2 separate regions of the Homo sapiens genome follow, and region 1 is linked to region 2. Evidence: promoter capture Hi-C in 16 types of primary human blood cells and fetal thymus (Javierre and others, 2016). All regions are on one chromosome and are shown on one strand. Each heading gives the region's core, a stretch centred on a gene start or on the middle of the fragment in contact. The rest is flanking DNA. Distances are from core to core; before and after follow the strand shown. Region 1 holds the start of SMC6 (structural maintenance of chromosomes 6). Region 2 holds the start of PNPT1 (polyribonucleotide nucleotidyltransferase 1).

Region 1 (2,940 bases), core at 133-2,632, about 38 Mb after region 2:
TGTTTTGGTCTATTTTGACTATGTCATATTTTTCGTTGATCCATGGCAAGGGCCACAGTAGGAATATAATATATATGTGATTACTTTTAGAAATAAAAAGTGACTTTGATGTAAAGAATTCCATTACCGGAGGCCAGAATTTCAACATCAATTTATTTGGAGGTGGAGTGAGGTGGCAGTCAATGCATTATTTTCCCCACACAGAAGAGAAGATTTTGGAGTATGAAAAGTAGGTTACTTGTTAGGTCAGCATATTCATGGGAAGGGTTGTGTAAAGACTGAAGCGGGAGTGTGGGGTTGAGAAGGGCGCTGAAACCTAAGCCAAGGAAGTTAAGACTTCATTACTTCTGACGTTTATTTAGGGGGTTTACACTCTAGGTTACCGTGGGGGAAAGACTGATTGTAAATAACTACAATACCTTAAAGTAATTACTATAACAGAACTATATCCGAAATACAAGGTTAACACGGAAAAGGGAACACCCAACTGTGCCTATGGGGACCAGGGAGGGCTCTCCCGGGATGGCTTTGAGCGAGGCGTGGGAATTATCCCCATCGCATGCCCGGGGGAAGCACAGCGGGACCCAGCAGCTTCGGCCAAGCGCAAGCGGCCGGAGAACGCGCAGCTTTCCCGAGGCGGGGTGACGCAGGGCCCTCGCGAGTGGAAAACAGGGGCCAAGTCGCGGCCTGGCGGCTCGGTTCGGACTTCCTACTTTATTCAAAGGGAGTCATTGAAGGCGTTTTCGGAGGAGCAGCGAACAAAGAGCTCGTCCGTAAGCCAGATGGTCAAAGGAATCAGTGGGAGGACCCGGGCGGCGCCGTCTCTCCACGTCCCGCGGGACTTACCCGGACAACCCTTCCTCCTTGGCTCTGGAAGAAGCCCCTTCGTCATTTACCAGTTTGGCCTGAATCCTAACTACTGTGCCTCCAAATTTCTGAATTTTCTCAAAAGGAAAAAAAAAAAGGAAAGTCCTCTTTCTTTACCCAAGCAAAGACTAGCTCCCCGGGCTCAACCGCCAGGCCCAGGAGCACCAGGAAGCGTTTCGAATCCAGCGCCGGGCCCGCGCGGCCCCGCCTCTTCCGGGAAGTGACTGACCCCTTTCCCCCAATGGGGCCCGCTCGGCTTTCCCTTGCCGGCTCCCAGCCGGCCTAGCGGACGCATGCGTAGACCAGCTGCCGGGGGCGCTCAATTATCTTTCCCTTTTACTTAGGCAAATCACTCACCTCCCCCGAGTCCGGTCACTGCGGAGCCGCCCGTGCCTACCAGCTTCCCCCACCCGCTAAGGGGCACTTCCGGCCTCTCAGACTCCGGCGGCGCGAAACCCCGCAACTGCGCAGGCGCGGGCGGAGCCCGAAGGGAGGGAGGGCGGGGCGCAGGCGCGGTTAGTACCGCGGTGGGCGCCGGGGCTCCCGGGAATCTACCTTCTCCTGCGGCCGGCACGCGGTTCCCAGGGGGCCAGCGGCGGTCAGCCGAGGTCGAGACGCCCGCAGGGTGGCCTTAGCGGCCGGTCGTACCACGGCAGCCCCGCCGATCAGGTTCCTTTGGGAGACTTCGACTTGTTGGCGGTAGGGTGAAGGCGCGCGCTGTCGCTTTCCCTTGCTCCGGGGTTCATCCTCCGCCCGCTGCCCCCTTGGCTGGCGACCCCCAGCCACCCGGGAGAGGCAGGGTCAGCTGAGCTGCGGCGGTGTTCATGGTCGTCCTTGCGGGCCCGGGCGGGAGATGTCCGTTCCTCGGGCGGGTCGGGCGGCCGGCGGCACCTTCGCGCGCTCTCCGAGGCGGCACCGGTCTCCTGAGCCGCGGGAAACCTGGCGTCTGCTCCGGGCCGTCCCCTCCCAGGCGGCCGTCCCCTCCCAGGCGGCCGTCCCCAGACTCTCCCGGGCTGTGGCGAATAACTGTAAAGCGGGGAGAGGTCTGGGGAAAGCTGGGGTAGGGAGTGGCTCTTAGCATGAGTCTGATGATATCTCGCAGGCGGCAACTGGTGTGTTTAAAGGGTGTATGCAAAGATCACTGAAATCGGATTTGTCATTAAAGCCCAGTTTTACGAAAATGCAAATTGTATTACCTAGAAAAATTAACATGTGTTCAAAGGTTTACTGATGGCATTTCTCTGCCCTCATTTCTTACAGAAATGAACCGGAGAAGAATCCCAATTGGGAATTGCGGAAAACAGGACTCTAGGGTAGAGAAAGGTTGTAGAACCAATAGGGTTTGAGGTAATACTGTGAAAATTCTTAGAGCAATCATTTGGTGTTTGAGCCCTCAAGACAGAAGTTTTGTGAGCGCTTATTACTCTGCATATGTCACGAGTAGTAGATTAAAAGCCAGTGTTTTAAAGGCAAACTTCTCAGTAATATATATTCAAAGGAAAAAAGAAAAACCCAAATCTCCTGACTTTTATATGGTTGCAGTGTGATCTTTTAACATGTACAATAGTATATACAGTGGCATGCAGTTTGTTCCATGGGTGTGTGGGTAGAGAGGGAACATATTAGAACTTCTATTTAGATTTATTTCATTTGATTTCTACGTGAAACATAGGGTATTAATTTTATGTTGGAACATGTATTTCAAATTTCTTTTGCTTAATGGGTGCAAGTACAAAACGTTTGGAGGCCACTAGTATATTGCCTAAAAGCGTGTATTTATATCACAAAAAGCCAGAATTGTGTGACTCTGAGCAGGTTGGTACCACCTCTTTAAGTTTCAGTTCTTCTTATGCAAGTTGGAAGAAATAATACAGTTATCAGTGCATCCTCTGTATCCGTGGACTCAATCAAGGGACTGAAAATATTTCAGAGGAAAAAAAGTGGATGGTTGCACAGACTTTTTTTTGTTCTTGTCATTATTCCCTAAACAGTACAGTATAACAACTATTCACATAGCATTTGCATTGTGTTAGGTTATATAAGTAATCTAGAGATAACTTTTAAGTATGTGGG
Region 2 (2,700 bases), core at 127-2,626:
CCTGGATTCAAGCGATTCTCATGCCTCAGCCTCTGGAGTAGCTGGGATTACAGGCACGCGCCACCACACCGAGCTAATTTTTGTATTTTTAGTAGAGACGCGGTTTCAGCATGTTGGCCAGGATGCCCTGGGTCTCTTGACCTCGTGATCCACCCGCCTCTGCCTCCCAGCGTGCTGGGATTACAGGCATGAGCCACTGCGCCCGGACTTTTTTTTTTTTTTTTTTTTTTTTTTTTTTTGAGACCGAGTTTCACTCTTGTTGCAATGACGCGATCTCGGCTCACTGCAACCTCCGCCTCCCGGGTTCAAGCGATTCCCCTGCCTCAGCCTCCCGAGTAGCTGGGATTACAGGCATAAGCCACCATGCCCGGCTAGTTTTGTATTTTTAGTAGAGACGGGGTTTCTCTGTGTTGGTCAGGCTGGTCTCGAACTCAGGTGATCCGCCCGCCTCGGCCTCCCAAAGTGCTGGGATTACAGGCGTGAGCCACAGCGTCCAGCCAACGTTTTTAATTCTTAAAACTGTGTTTGAATGAGTGTTGGGTTTTTGTTGTTTGGTTTTCTTTGGGGTAAGGCGGTTATCACCTTACACAAAAAATTTACATCATAATATGAAAATGCCCATTGGTTCATTCAAGGAAAAACATAAAGAATTTCTAACAGAATGGATTAATGGGGTGGAAGAAATTTATCCATTCTCTAAAAATTTTTCAAATCCCAAAAACTTTTTTTTTTCATTTTACAAAATATTTACTTCAAACAGTAGCTGGCATTTTGCATTTAAGAGTTCGACCAAAAGGGACAGAAATATAAATTGCTAATTATTAGCAATGGAAATGAAAATGAATCAGAAGTGACAATAAAGATTTCTAAAATTACAAGTCGATGAAAAATGAATTTACTGTAAATTGGTTAACACAAATCGCTGTAGTAACATATCTGCTATGTGAAATTTTTAAAATAAAAACCAGGGCGGAGAAGGGGAGAAGGAGATCTCTTTCCAAGGCCCACCACCCAAATTCTAATTCTTAGTTCACAGATCCAAATAATAATAATGTGTTGTTCTATGACTTCTAGTATTAAAAGTAAATATAAATTTACTCTGCATATTAAACATTTACATTATTCTAGGACTTCTCCTTTAAATTACGATAGTACACACACAAAAACCTTATTTATCTAATTGCCTTTCGTTGGCACATAAAGACAAAGATCGTTTGCAACATAATCGCGTTCTGATAGGTTTGACCCTCTCTAGTCTTCGTAGAAGGTGGCCAAGGTTTCCGTTACCCCGGCGTCCCTCGGGCACCGCGGAAACGAAACTCCATCAGGCTCCGCCCCACGGTCTGCGGAGTGAGCCAATCAGGGCACAGCCTGCGTTGACCGCGTGCCGGGTGTCATGGCGGCCTGCAGGTACTGCTGCTCGTGCCTCCGGCTCCGGCCCCTGAGCGATGGTCCTTTCCTTCTGCCACGGCGGGATCGGGCACTCACCCAGTTGCAAGTGCGAGCACTATGGAGTAGCGCAGGGTCTCGAGCTGTGGCCGTGGACTTAGGCAACAGGTAAGGAGTGACGTGCGTTCACTGTATTGTCATAAGGTGTCTTGTCCAGCCAGCTTGAGCGTATTCATCTCCCAGGGTAGAAACCCGGTATCCCAGCTCTATTTAATCTCTCCTTACCCTAAACCTAAATTCCAAATTTCCCTTTCCGGGTTTGGAATGTGTCTCCTCGGACCCTCCTTCCCGCGCTATGTCGTTCTCTCTGTTGGTGTGTGCCGGGCTTCTTTGCTCCATCCGACTCTGTCCGTCCACCTGACTTCCGATCTCTTTACTTTCCGGGACCACTGGGCTCTTAAGTGGGAAACATTCCACCTAGGAATAACGAGTTGACGTGGGTGAGACGAGGCCCCCCGGGATGCTGGCCCGGACCCTGGAAGCTGGGGCTCTGATGCCCCTCGAGCTGGGACACAGACCTCAGCAGAGGCTCCGGGTGGCTAGTGCACCACGGGTCCCCCACGTCCCACTCCTCGGGCTCCTTCAGCCTCCTCTTCACCAGGAGCCTACCTTGTAGAAGTTGAACACCAGGTCCAGTTCACAGACATTGTGGAAATATTCGTTTAAGACCTGGGAGAGGAAGGCAGAGATGGTAAGAGATGGACAGGGAGAGAGCCACACACGCACAGAGATGGGAACAAGGTCATCAGAAAGAGACAGCAAAAAAAAGAGACCAAGAGGGAGGCAGGGGAGAGAGAGAGACAGTGACAGGGAGAGAGGCAAGGAGACACACAGAGAGAAACAAAAGCAAAGATCGATGCAAAGAGATGGCAAAAGGTCAGGCGCTCACACCTGTAATCCCAGCACTTTGGGAGGCTAAGACGGAAGGATGACTTGAAGTTAGGAGTACAAGATATCATGTCATCCAATCTAATTGATTGCCTAAAGTGTGACCACTATGACCCTGGGTTAGGAGGAAAAGGAAAAGTCAGTTTTTTGAACGCCAGTTATATGATCCTCGCAATCTTTTTAAACCTGTCGTAAAGGTACTATTACCCTCATTTTATAGTTAAGACTACAGAGGCTCAAAAAAGGTTAGATAACTTTCTAAGAGTCTATAAAAAAGTTAGTATTATGGGACTAGGTGGTTTTTGAATTTCTGTTTTTTGCTTACAAAGCCCATACTTTTTTTTAGGGGACCGCTTTTTAAAA

The links. Contacts are between HindIII fragments. The CHiCAGO score rates a contact against its expected background, and 5 or more counts as called.
Region 1: the fragment with the promoter of SMC6 here is called in contact with the fragment with the promoter of PNPT1 in region 2 in 1 of 17 cell types (naive CD8 T cells); the score reaches 6.7 in naive CD8 T cells.

The regions. Positions count from the first base shown.
Region 1 is chr2:17,752,252-17,755,191 of GRCh38, reverse strand. It overlaps SMC6 (structural maintenance of chromosomes 6), which reads left to right and starts at 1,382. Exons shown (of 28, transcript NM_001142286.2): 1 at 1,382-1,566; 2 at 2,128-2,214. GEN1 (GEN1 Holliday junction 5' flap endonuclease) reads right to left here and starts at 1,054. Exons shown (of 14, transcript NM_001130009.3): 1 at 847-1,054. RefSeq lists silencers at 1,267-1,406, 1,547-1,906. The HindIII fragment of the contact is 9,742 bases long and covers 1-2,940 here.
Region 2 is chr2:55,692,520-55,695,219 of GRCh38, reverse strand. It overlaps PNPT1 (polyribonucleotide nucleotidyltransferase 1), which reads left to right and starts at 1,376. Exons shown (of 28, transcript NM_033109.5): 1 at 1,376-1,557. The coding sequence starts at 1,397. RefSeq lists enhancers at 1,187-1,336, 1,367-1,426, 1,437-1,556 and a silencer at 2,127-2,186. The HindIII fragment of the contact is 6,564 bases long and covers 1-2,700 here.